4 separate regions of the Homo sapiens genome follow, and regions 1, 3 and 4 are each linked to region 2. The links are contacts of gene promoters, found by promoter capture Hi-C in blood cells and fetal thymus (Javierre and others, 2016). All regions are on one chromosome and are shown on one strand. The core of a region is centred on a gene start or on the middle of the fragment in contact, and the rest is flanking DNA. Distances in the headings are between cores, read along the strand shown. Region 1 overlaps STK36 (serine/threonine kinase 36). Region 2 holds the start of ARPC2 (actin related protein 2/3 complex subunit 2). Region 3 overlaps USP37 (ubiquitin specific peptidase 37). Region 4 overlaps PLCD4 (phospholipase C delta 4).

Evidence for each region. Contacts are between HindIII fragments. The CHiCAGO score rates a contact against its expected background, and 5 or more counts as called.
Region 1: a fragment that was not itself captured here is called in contact with the fragment with the promoter of ARPC2 in region 2 in 1 of 17 cell types (fetal thymus); the score reaches 5.4 in fetal thymus.
Region 3: a fragment that was not itself captured here is called in contact with the fragment with the promoter of ARPC2 in region 2 in 3 of 17 cell types (non-activated CD4 T cells, monocytes and neutrophils); the score reaches 5.8 in non-activated CD4 T cells.
Region 4: a fragment that was not itself captured here is called in contact with the fragment with the promoter of ARPC2 in region 2 in 1 of 17 cell types (non-activated CD4 T cells); the score reaches 5.4 in non-activated CD4 T cells.

What each region holds. Positions count from the first base shown.
Region 1 is chr2:218,687,906-218,691,174 of GRCh38, reverse strand. It overlaps STK36 (serine/threonine kinase 36), which reads right to left. Exons shown (of 27, transcript NM_015690.5): 12 at 2,299-2,478; 13 at 1,219-1,316; 14 at 620-725. Among named protein-coding and RNA genes, the nearest start is that of STK36, 17 kb to the right of the region's middle. The HindIII fragment of the contact is 3,676 bases long and covers 1-3,269 here.
Region 2 is chr2:218,215,827-218,218,751 of GRCh38, reverse strand. ARPC2 (actin related protein 2/3 complex subunit 2) reads right to left here and starts at 1,563. Exons shown (of 11, transcript NM_152862.3): 1 at 1,498-1,563; 2 at 1,208-1,289. The coding sequence starts at 1,281. It overlaps LOC101928487 (a long non-coding RNA gene), which reads left to right and starts at 1,566. Exons shown (of 2, transcript XR_923908.2): 1 at 1,566-1,724; 2 at 1,901-2,651. RefSeq lists a silencer at 1,380-1,429 and an enhancer at 951-1,554. The HindIII fragment of the contact is 6,430 bases long and covers 1-2,778 here.
Region 3 is chr2:218,481,709-218,484,770 of GRCh38, reverse strand. USP37 (ubiquitin specific peptidase 37) reads left to right here. Exons shown (of 26, transcript NM_020935.3): 17 at 2,537-2,701. Among named protein-coding and RNA genes, the nearest start is that of VIL1, 64 kb to the right of the region's middle. The HindIII fragment of the contact is 768 bases long and covers 1,235-2,002 here.
Region 4 is chr2:218,634,585-218,637,798 of GRCh38, reverse strand. PLCD4 (phospholipase C delta 4) reads right to left here. Exons shown (of 16, transcript NM_032726.4): 13 at 3,169-3,214; 14 at 1,868-2,003; 15 at 1,407-1,556; 16 at 624-1,328. The coding sequence ends at 1,222. ZNF142 (zinc finger protein 142) reads left to right here. Exons shown (of 11, transcript NM_001379659.1): 11 at 1-3,214. Among named protein-coding and RNA genes, the nearest start is that of ZNF142, 23 kb to the left of the region's middle. The HindIII fragment of the contact is 965 bases long and covers 1,125-2,089 here.

The DNA of each region.
Region 1 (3,269 bases), core at 379-2,878, 470 kb before region 2:
CCTCCATTCTCCTGTCCCTTACCTCCAGGATCTAGGGAAAAGAACTGCATAGTCTACTAATCCTCAGGACAAACGAGGTTAGACAATACTAGATGATCTGCAAGTCTTTTCAAGAAGAAGTCGTTCTATTTGTGGTCCCCTGAAATATGCCAAACTGCTTAAAGCCTCTGGGCCTTTATATATGTTACTCTTTCTGTATAGAATTTCTACTTTGTGCCTCATTTACGTGGCAAACTGCGATGTATTCTTCAAATGCTAGCAGAGATGATTTCCTTCTTCGAGATTTCTTCTATGATACTCCAAATAGTGTTAAGTGCATCTTCTGCAGTGGTTAACTGCATCTTCTTCATAAAATACAGCAGTGCTCTTGTATTATATGCAAAGTTCTAATGTACTTTTCACTGTTGTCCTTAATCCCTTTACCTCTCCCCTATTAAATTATCCCTAGTCCCTTGAAGGCAGGCACTTTTTCTTACTCACATGGCATATGGCATGGTGGGAATTTAACAAATGTTTGTCATATTAACTTGATCTGACCCTACATAGTCATAAGAAAGGGGATGGGAGAAACACGGAGAATGATAGGAGACACAGAAATCTGGAAGTGGGAGCAGATTACCATAAGGCTGTCCCTCCGCAAAGTCTGCTCAGAGTCATCTGGTTGGGCCAGCAGTTTCCCCAACAGGTCCAGAAAAAGGTTGGCAGCCTCCTGAAACACCTGCAGGCTGGGGGTGGAAAATGAGCCCATGATTTCTTATCTCTCTACTAAAAGCCTGGATGTGGTGAATGGGTCAGTCCTGGGCAGGTAGGAGAATCTCTGCAAAGGGACACATCAGAATGTTCCTCCCTTCTCCCTTGCCACACACACACATACACCCTCCAAGCCCCTTCTTTGCCATTTTCTCTAGGTTATTCGCATATTTTTTTTCTTTCTTTCTTTCTTTAATCCAATTGGCTTCCTGGAATAGGTTATTCACATCTTGACCCTTCCATTTTAGGACCATGGTGACTGCTGACTCTTAGAAACTGTAAGTCTTGAGGCCAAGTTGGAGCTGTCTTAGGGTCCTTAAAAGGACTATGAGTGGCCACTCAGCTGATTCCTAAACCTGTAACAAATCACAGCTTCTTCATACTTGGCCTGTTCCTAAATGGGAAGGGCACTTGGGGTAGAAACAGAAGCCAAACTTGCCAACAATGCAAAAGCACTTCTTATCCTACCTGTCACTTGTCTGGCTCCTCTCCAGATTGAAGGTACAGGCAAAGTAGGCCTGAATCACAGCCATCAGGTCCTGTAAGAAGGTCCCATACCAAGATTGCTGCCCAGGAAAAGGAGAAGAGAGTAAGGGCAATGTGAAGGATGGAAACAAAGAATAGAAAAAACAGTAGAAAGGGTGTATAGAGACCCAGTCAAGTTGATCAAACAGAAAGGGACAGAAGAGAAGTATAGGCAGAGAGAGAGTTCTAGGGGTAACAGAGAATCTGCCAATGGGCTGTGAACAGCCTGGATTAAATGTGTCTTGTTTGGCCTGAATAGCATTTTGGAGTATAGGAGGTTCTATTTTTCAAAAATCTTTTTCTCTAAATTCCTTAAAATCACCCAAGATTAATACTCATCAACAAAGTGCAGCTTTCCAGCTGCCTCATCCTAGGCCCTATTAGGCATTTACACTGACTCTGAAACATTCCCCATCCTCTCAGTCCAGCTACCGTAGGACACAGCAGGGGGAAGTAGAGGTTTGGCCCCAAACACATTGAGTCTCTATCCCAGCTCTTCCACTTGTTATCTCTGTGACCATTTACAAATTAGTGACTGTGTATGAGTTACCTCTGAATTTTAGTACTCTGCTCTGTAAGATCAGGTCAATGAAGCCTAGGATCTAACATTTCAAAGCACAGCGCTCTAAATATTTAAAAATTACACATAAAAATTTGGGTTTCTACCTTTTCTTAGAAAACTAGAAGATCTGGCTAGTTTTCTCAGGCCCATATTTCCCTGTGGCAACAATGGGCTGGAGGCTGAGGAAAGGATGCCTCTACTCTATTTAGAGGAGGCATGTGAACTCTAGTTCATCATATTCCCCACAACTCATATAGTCACATGCATAGCCTACTTCATGGCAGACCTTATCTGCCTGGCCCCAGAAGGCATTAGAGTTTGCAATTAATAGTCTACTAACTAGAAAGAGGAGGAAAGAAAATAAAAGGCAGTCAGACCAAAGAGAGATGGCAATCTGAATGAGATAAATCCAAGAAAAAGAACCTCTGTAAGTCTTCAGAGGCTTCTGGCCTGGTGCTTACCTGCTGGAGGCTGTTGCTCTCCTGACTGTGCCTGAGTAGACTCAGCAGCAGCCCAGGAAGCCCTGCCTCCCGGCAGAAGGAATACAAGGCAACAGAATCACTGCAGCTGGAGAGAAGACTGCTCAGGACCCGGAATGCAGGCAGGATGTGGGAAGCACCCTCCAAGATGCCTTTCAGGATCTGGGTGACATGAGGGAAAGAGGCAACGATTGATATTTTCAGAGGTAAAAGAAGGAGAACTACACATACCAAGCATCCCCAAGGAGCTGGGAAAGCAGACCACATGCTTGCATTCCTTTCTTTGCAAGTCTAAAACACAGAGAAGGAAAGCAGGGAAATAGGGGAACTGTACCAGGGAAGAAGACAATAGATGGTCAGGTTACCTAACACAGAACACCAGTGACCAACGGATAGGGGCCTCTCCTCAGGATCTCTGTCAGACTAAGTGCCATTCCCATCTGCTCCCTCCCTTCTCCAGCCCTTCACCTTAAAAACAAAAAACACGTGCACCGCACATGCTTCTGAAAATTCAAAACAATGCATATAAAACAATATTATTTAACCACAGAAAGACAAAACAACATTATTCAACTCTAGATCAGGGTTGACAAACTATGGCTCACAGGTCAAATCCAGCCTAACATTTATTTGTATACAGCCTGCATGCTAAGGATAGTATTATATTTTTATTTATTTTTGCCCTTTATTTATTTTTCGAGACAGAGTTTCACTCTTGTCCTCCAGGCTGGAGTGTAATGGTGCAATCTTGGCTCACTGCAACCTCTCTGCCTCCTGGGTTCAAGTGATTCTCCTGCCTCAGCCTCCCAAGTAGCTGGGATTACAGGTGCCCACCACCACACCTAGCTAATTTTTGTATTTTTAGTAGAGATGGGATTTCACCATGTTGGCCAGGCTGGCCTCAAACTCCTGACCTCAAGTGATCCTCCCACCTCAGCCTCCCAAAGTGCTAG
Region 2 (2,925 bases), core at 314-2,813:
CAGTTAATACTTTCTAATGCCTCCAAGCCACAAGTACATTATGACCACTTAAAAATTCCCCTCTACCAATCTTCTCCCATCTGTGGATCTGCAAGCACTTTCCTATTACTAGTTCCCAGTTCACCAGAAACGGTCTGCACTTATTAACTGTGAAACCCAGATGTGAAGCCCCATGCTCATACATAGGGAAATGAGGCAAAGGGACTGGCCACAGGCCACCAAAAATTAGAACCCAAAATCCTTAGCTCATGTTTTAAATATTATACTAGAAAAGCAAAGCAGCTTTGGAGGAGCAGATTGTCTTCTACTGATTCTTGTGTTTGGCAGAGAGGCTGCCTTGGAAAGATGCCCTAAGCCCATCTTTTAAAAAGTCCAATCGTAAAGACAGGTTATCTAAGAACTTTATAGATTCTGGAGTCTTTGAAGTGTGTAACTGGGCCAGGGCTACCACAGAAGAAATCACAGACCTAGGGTCTTGATGTAAGAATTTACAAGATAACCAGATAAAGGCTAGTGGGTGAGGAGAGAGCATTAGAACCTCAAAGGAGAGATAAGGAAGGGGTGTGGAGCGAGGGACAATTGGCTTTGCTTTAAAAATATGTAACAAAATGGCCCAGTGTCTCTCACAGAAGGGTTCGGGGAAGGGAAACCAGAGATCGCGTTTTTCCGGCTCTAAGACTGGGTCGGCTTTTAGTCTTCTCTTCTGCTCCTTTTAAAGGAGATGGGGGTGGGGAACGAGAATGCTGGTGGCGATGTGGGCCTGCATCTCCTTCCCTCCTCCAGTCCTGGGAATTCCTGAAAACTCCTTCCAACCCAATTCCAAACAGGCTCTCTCTGGGTTCAGAACAATGCCGGGGAATTTCACGCAGGGAAGGGGTCCCCTTCTCGCCCCAGAGGGCAGGGGGCTACTCCGGAGCGAGTTCCGGCTCCAGGGTCCCCCACGTCCCACAGGTCTCCTGCCCTTTGGCACGCACAGCCCTCACCACTCGCTGCTTCCGCATCCCTCCTCTGAGCCTCTCCCCACGCATCTCTGCCCCTCGCCCGGCCGCGCCCAATCGCCTCCCACGTCTACCCCGCTGGGGCAGCCCCTACACCCTGCCAGGCACCCCATTTCTCTCCTCCAGGTCTGGGGGACTGGACAACATTGGGGATTAGCTGGGGTCAACTCTGCTTCCCCCGCCACCCCCGGCCCCGGGCGCGCGCTCACCCGGCGGCCGCGTTCTCGAACTTGAGCGCGAGCGTCTCCTCGATGATGCGGTTGTTCACCTCCAGCAGGATCATGGCGGCGGCTGCCCCCAGGGGAAGGAGAAACAAGGGCCGGTGAGGGTGGGTAAGGGAGGCAAGGACGGAGGGAGCGGCCCTGCTGCCCCCTGAGTGGGGCTGGGTGGGGTAGGAGGTTAGGGGAGAAGGGGAGAGGGGCCGGGGTGGAGGGAAGGGTAAGACGAACGCGCTGGCCCACGCACGCAGACTGTGGAGACACCCACCCACCCAACCGACCTGGCCCCCGAAGCCTGAACCCGCCTGCCGAGCCGCCGCCGCCGCCGCCACTGCCGCTTCACCGACAAGCCCGGTCCCCGCCCAGCCCCCGGCTCTAGCCGGCCACTTCCGCTCTCACACCCACTTCCGCTCGCCGCCTGGACGCGCGGCCCCGCGGCGCCATTTCCGCTTCAACCACTCGTGAACGCGAGCGCAGGCGCGCCGGAGGAAACGGAGGCTGCGCTTGCGTATGTGTGATGCCGCCGCCCCACCGTCTACTTTCCCACCGACCCCGCTTACGTCTACCGCCTACCAGTGCGTCCCCCGCGGAGCTGTCATTCCCCGAGGCTTGCCTGACTGTTCAGCTTCTCTCTCCCGCTTGTCCCAGAGATCCAACTCCATTCTTCCGGTCTTGTCATTTCAGAAACCTCGCAAGAAGCTCGCCCTTGTCGTCTCCCAGCGGGCTTCTTAGCTCCCAGCTTGTTTGATGGGGGTGCCTCTTTTTCTTTCCAGGTATAGCTGTCCAGCGACACCATCATGCATTCATTTCTCCAACAAACATTTTCATGGGCTCTTGCTCTATACTGGGGATGTAGTGGTAAATGAAATGGACGAGGCCCTGCCCTCGTGGAACTTACAGTCTGGCAAAGGAAACAGACAATAAAATTCTCAGTTGTCTAAGGAGGCAGAGATGCATGGGGAGAGGATCAGAGTAGGGATGCGGAAGCAGCGAGTGGTCAGGAGTGTGCGTGCCAAAAGGCAGGAGACCTGTGGGACGTGGGGGCAGCTGGGGCCGGAACTTGCGCTGGAGGAACACCCCTTGCCTGCTGGGGCGAGAAGAGGACCCTTTCCTTGGGTGAAATTCCCCATATTGTTAAAAGGACAATTAAAGAAATGAAAGAGAGGTCACCTGGGTGAATAGGCAACTTAGATGGGCCTCCCTGTGTTCCTGTCATGCCTCCAATTCTGCGTCCAGGTGTCCGGAACACATTTTTTTCTGCCTTTGAAACCTTCCAGTACCTCTGGCAGAGATATACCATACCCTCCTTGTTACCTGCGTGCGGAATCTTAACTCATCGTTGTGCTACATCTGCACCTTCTGCCTTTGTGCCTTGTTTTGTGTTTTCCCTCCTCCGGGGAGAATATAATAAACTTAGCTGAGTCCGTTCTACATACAAGGAAATAATTTATTTTCTGCTATGTGTTTGGGGATGGGGATAAAAAAATGAACAAGAAACTAGCTCCTATCATTAAGGCACAGATAGCCCTTTGAAACATTACTTAACGGGCTATGGATAAGCTTCAGGATATTGCTGATCCCCTAAAATTATACGCTAACTTAAATTTTTTTTTTTTTGAGACAGAGTCTTGCACTCTTGCCCAGGCTGGAGTGCAATGGCATGATCTCGGCTCACTGCAACCTCTGCCTCCCCGGTTCAAGCGATTCTC
Region 3 (3,062 bases), core at 369-2,868, 270 kb before region 2:
GCTTCAATATTCTGTCAGTAAGTGTGGAATTTCTGGAACCTAGCCCCTAGAGACTAGTTCTTTTACATTTCATAATCTACTCCTTTCTAGAAAATGGGAGTTGGTTTTTTTTTTTGGTTGTTTGTTGTTGTTGTTGTTGTTGTTGTTTTGATACAGAGTCTTGCTCTGTCCCCCAGGCTAGAGTGCAGTGGCACGATCTCAGCTCACCGCAACCTCTGCCTCACGGGTTCAAGCGATTCTCCTGCCTCAGCCTCCCGAGTAGCTGGGATTACAGCTGTATGCCACCACACCTGGCTAATTTTTGTATTTTTAGTAGAGACGGGGTTTTGCCATGTTGACCAGGTTGGTCTTGAACTCCTGACCTCAGGTGATCCACCTGCCTTGGCCTCCCAAAGTGCTGGGATTATAGGCATAAGCCACCGCGCCGGGCCAAGGAAGTTGGTTTTAAAGAAATGACTTTATAAAGGCTGGGTGTGGTGGTTCACGCCTGTAATCTCAACATTTTGAGAAGCCAAGGTGGAAGGTTTGCTTGAGACCAAGAGTTCAAGACCAGCCTGGGCAACATGGTGAGACCCCCATCTCTACAAAAAATGTTGTGTTTTTTGTTTTTTTCAAACAGAGTCTCGTTCTGTTGCCCAGGCTGGAATGCGGTGGCATGATCTCGGCTCACTGCAACCCCCGCCTCCTGGGTTCAAGCGATTCTCCTGCCTCAGCCTCCTGAGTAGCTGGGATTACAGGAACGCGCCACCACGCCTGGCTAATTTTTGTGTTTTTGGTAGAGACAGGGTCGCGCCGTGTTGGCCAGGCTGGTCTCAAACTCCTGACCTCAGGTGATGTGGCCGCCTCGGCCTCCTCAAGTGTATAAATCATAGCAGTATTATTATATTGACTTAAGAGACTTATATTTTTGGATTAAGAGAATTTGTTCTTTCCTGTTTGTGAGTGGTTTGAGGCCAGGAAGGTGGGAGGAAGAATCTTAAGGCAAAGAATTGGTTGTTACCAGCTGTCACTAAGGAAATTATGTGTACAGTTAAAAAGACTAGTTTTGACCTCACATGCTGGATGTCTTTTCTCTTTCCCATTCTCTTGCTATTTGGTTTTTCAAGTGGGGGGAAAAAAATGCTAAGGGGAATTTTTCTCCTTGTTTTTCTTTCTTTTTTTTCTTTTTTTTTTTTTTCCTGGTAGATCACTTGTGTTAAAGGTTAATTTATTCCAGACTTATGTGATAGAAGCTTCTGTTTGTCAAATCCTAATATTAGTTTTGTTCTACTTTTGTTCAATTTAATATTCAAAGCCACTCTTTAAATCCTAATGATTAGTCTTGTTCTACTTTTGTTCAGTTTAATATTCAAAGCCACTCTTATTCTTGAAGAGCCTGATGCCATTATCAAATCTGTTCACAAAGTTGGGCCTCATCTTTGAAGATCAGTGATTTTGACTATCATTTTCCTGTTTTATATTACCTTCCCCCCCACCTTTTACTGCTCCATGCATAGCAGGGCTACACTATAGGCAGTGTGTCCAGAGTAGCCTCATATTACCTTTTATTTTGGTTAGGTTATTTGAAATTCTAGTTAAAATATTTAATTTTGACATTGGTTTCATATCAGTTGTGTCCTTGTATTCTCTCAAATTGTATATTTGAAGATCCTGAGTTCTAGCACGCTTTTTAAAGAGAACTACAATCTATAACTTCAGTTTGCAAATTTTTGTTTGTGGCTTCTGTGATGAAGGCATATATGGTAAGAATCAGTTTTTTATAGATCATTTTTGTGTGTGTGCCTAGAACTGAAGTTTATTCCCATAAGATGTTTGAAATTCAATTTTTAAAGTGTTCTTGTGGGTTGAGAAATATATTTAATCCATCAAGCAGAGATCGTGTTCTGTGTGAGAAGTGAAAAGGTTACCACAATTTTAACCACAAAGAATTCAGTGCTTCTAAAGAGCTAAAAGCCTTTACAGACCCACAGATCAGATTTGGCATGCAAATTTTTGTAAAGCTTTTTTCTAAATGGGGAAAAGTTTTGTATTTCCTCCTTAGCTTTCTACAGAGAAAGTACTTCTGAAAATAAAAGAATAATTCTCATCAAAAATCATCTTGAAGTAATTAATGTTTACCATCAAATATAAGAGCTATGTAACATTTTAATAGACATTATTTTACTAGTAGTGGTTATATAAAACCTATTGCTTTTTAAACTATGTAACAGTGAAGTAAATAATTTAAGGATTTAACCCAATATCAGTGCCAAATTTAACATTCTTGTCTGCTATATTTTATTTATTTGTGTTTTTTCTAGGAACATTATAAGTATTTTACCCAAACCACACTAATCCACCATTATTTGTATGCTTTTTACCTAGCCCAATGCCTGGCACTAACAGGTATTCAGTAAATATTCTTTGACGTGTCTTTGGTTTGGCCAAATGGATTTTTTAAATCAAAAGTCGTCTAACATAGAGTGATCTCTTTTACTGTAAGAAAGATACATGTATTATGTATGAATTAGTAAGGTTGTCATCTCCTGTTTTTCAGGGTCCTCATTCTCCATTTGAAACGATATAGCTTCAATGTGGCTCTCTCGCTTAACAATAAGATTGGGCAGCAAGTCATCATTCCAAGATACCTGACCCTGTCATCTCATTGCACTGAAAATACAAAACCACCTTTTACCCTTGGTTGGAGTGCACATATGGCAATGTAAGTCCTTGAGAGACTATGTCTTTATATTCCCTTTTGAAATAGAAAGGCTTTAGTATCTAATCAAAAGAATGACTGAATTACATAATATGACTCCAAGGTAAAATCAGATCAATGGCCAGATGCAGTGGCTCATGCCTGTAATCCCAGCACTTTGGGAGGCTGAGGCAGGAGAATCGCTTGAGCCTAGGAGTTTGAAACCACCTATGGCAACAGAGCATGACCTCATCTCTACAAAAAATAAAATAATAAAGCCAGCATGGTGGCACACACCTGTAGTGCCAGCTACTCGAGGCTGAGGTGGGAGGATTGCTGGAGCCTGGGAGATGAAGGCTGCAGTGAATGGTGATCAGAGCAAGAC
Region 4 (3,214 bases), core at 358-2,857, 420 kb before region 2:
TCAGTATTGATACTGAAACAGGCCTAGGTCTGCCTTCTCCCTGTCCTTGAGCCATCTTGACCCTTGACCTGCTCCCTACTTCCAAGCTCCTTTGTCTACCTGTATCTATAGAGGGAGGATTGCTACCCACTAAGCCTCCTCCTAGAAGCAACTTTAGCTCATCATCAATCCTCAGACTGGCTCAGCAGCTACACTAAGGTGTTAAAGCACAAGGATACTATGGAAAGGCAGATGACTAGAGAGGAAAATCTCCAATTCAGAATTCTATAACTGCTTCACAGTATAATTCTGTAGTGCCTTACTATATAATTGATCATCTAAACTGAGACACACTGGGAAAACTTAAAGAGGGTACTATTAATAATTATGCTGGGACAACAGACATAAACCAGGATGGTTCCAGCCAGACTCTTCAGGAAGGCTGGGACCACATAACCTTTTGTCTGCTTTTGCCCTGATTCTTAAAAGCCATACTCTGTGTCCTTCCTATGTAGCACATGCAAGAGGTCTCCTGGGAACCTCTTTCTCTACCTTTTCCTTGTCTCACCTGACTACCCAGATGTCCCCACAACCCTTGTACCTCCCCTTCTTGCCCAACAATGACAGACCATATTGAAGCCAAATTGGAGAGAGATGTATTTATACCAGTGGGGCTAAGGAGGAAGCAGTCCAGTGGGGGACTTTGAGTGCTGTGCAGTGTTCTCTTAAGAGTCGTAGTACAGTCCTGGGGTCAAGTCTCTTTCCCTAATCTTTGCTGGGGAAGCCTTGAGCCTTGATTTATCCTTCCCTTGGCTTTGGGCTTTGAGGAAGTTGGGGATGGAGGGGATGATGCTTCTTTAGGTTTCTCTATTCCAAGCCCCTCTGAATTTCTAGTTGCAACCTGCCTTCACACAGAGTTGATGGGAAAGATTAGTTGTAGATGTCGGTATGGGATTGAGCCTACAGCAAGAGGAAGAAGGGAACTCCAGTATAGAGTACACAAAGGAAAAGGGCAGGAAAGATACCAAAGGCTTATGAAAACAAAGGAAGGGAAGAAAAGAGAAAAAAGGTGGAAAATCAGGTCCCAGATTGCTTGTTAGGAAGAATGAGGTAATTTTGTGCCTAGGAATGCACAATCCAAAGCTTGATTTTCACCACCTCCATTTGTTCTCTCGAGCATCCTTCCAGATGTTTCTCCCCGTCTAAAGCCAGCACACCAACCCTTCCCGTGAAATGCCCACCTCAGGACTCATCCCCCTCCAGGCCTTCCTGGATGCAGATATACACAAAGATGGAAGCTGGGCGGAGGCTGATGCCATCTTTGGACAGCAGGTGAATGTGGCGGTAACCTGGAAGGGGCAGGAGGACAGCATTAGGAAGGCAGCCAGAGCTGGGGTATTGGCCAGGGGCCAAAGGGGCTGGCTCACCTTGTTGCATGCAGGTCCAAGGCAGGGTGTACTGACCAATAAAGTCATTTCGGGATTTCCAGTCATAATCCATTACCACAAAACGCAGCATGGCAAGTTCAGGCACCAGCACCCGGAAACATAGTGTCTGCCCCCAGTATGGATTAAAACCTGAGTTGGTGGACAGAAAGAAATAAGAAGACATTATGACAGTTTTCTTGACTGGGTTGCTTTTCTTGTGTTCTCATTTAATCTAGATGGCAATCAGCATTTTACAGGTAAGGAAAAAGGCTCAGAGTAAGCAAGTAATTTGCCCAGGTCACTGGAGCTTTTAAGTGAAGAGCCAGGATTCTTTGTACTGTTCCACACTGCCTCCCATGTGGGGACATGCAATAACAGATGCTATACTTAATGGAAGACAGACTAGAAGGAAAACTAATCATGCTCCTACCCCCACCTCCCCAGCACTGCCAGTTTCTCACCATTGTTCTCCACATAGTTGGTCTCCTGCCGTGCTGTGTCTAGACGAACGCCAAAGATCTGCACTTTCACCAGTGGATCCACAATGGACCCCTCTTTGGTCTTGTCCACTTTGGGGAGTTGCTGACCGCTGATCACCTGTAGTCAGGGCTCTGGAATCTCACAAGTTCCTGCTCAGCCCAGCCCCACCCGACCCTACTCCCAACCCCAGGGGAGAAGAAGCTTTTTGGTTTGTAAAACATCCTCCATGGGTAATATATTTTCTTCTAGTATTCTATCTGCAATTTAAAATGCACCCAAAGGCCGGGCACGGTGGCTCACACCTGTAATCCCAACACTTCAGGAGGCCGAGGTGGGCAGATCACTTGAAACCAGGAGACCAGCCTGGCCAACATGGTGAAACCCTATCTCTACTAAAAATACAAAAATTAGCCAGGCATGGTGGCGGGCGCCTGTAGTCCCAGCTACTCGGAAGGCTCAGATGGGAGAATCACTTGAACCCAGGAGGCGGAGGTTGCAGTGAGCCAAGATCATGCCACTGCACTCCAGCCTGCAGCAGAGCAAGACTCTGTCTCAGAATAAACAAATAAATTAAATGGATCCAGGTAGAAATTCAACAGTTTGAAAGTAGGCATGCTAATGACAGCAGCCACTTTTTTTTTTTCAAAGAGACACGATCATACTCTTGACCAAGCTGGAATGCAGTGGGGCAGTCATAGCTCACTGCAACCTCCATCTCCTGGGCTAAAGTGACCCTCCAGCCTTAGCCTCCTGAGTAGCCAGGACTATCTATAGTCATGTGCCACCATGCCAGGCTAATTTTTAAATTTTTTGTAGAGACGGGAGTCTCTACAAAATTTTTAAATTTTTTGTTGAGACCAGTTTCAGACTGGTCTCAAACTCCTGGGCTCAAGCAGTCCTCCTGCCTTGGCCTCCAAAGCGCTGGGATTACAGGTGTAAGCTATCGCTCCCAGCCAGCCTCTTTTATAGCACTTCCTGTGTGCCAGGAATTGTAAGAACTTTATATTAACTGTTATACTCCTTATAACCCTGTGAGGCAGGTGGTAGTGTTACCCCTATTTTGCAGGTGAGCAGACTGAGGTATGGAGAGGTTAAGGAACTTGCCCAACATTACCCAATTAGGAAGTTGTGGTTTGAAGCTAGGCAGCTGGCTCCAAAAGCTAAAACTAGACACTGTTAATAGGCTATCCGGCCTCTACATTCCGGTCAGGCCTAGCCACCTCTTCCCTCACTTCTATCCCAGTTATCTCAGTTTCTTCCCAACAGTTTATTTCCACTGTACCTGGATTAAGAGAGTCTGGGCTTTGAAAGGGCTGATGGGCTTCTCA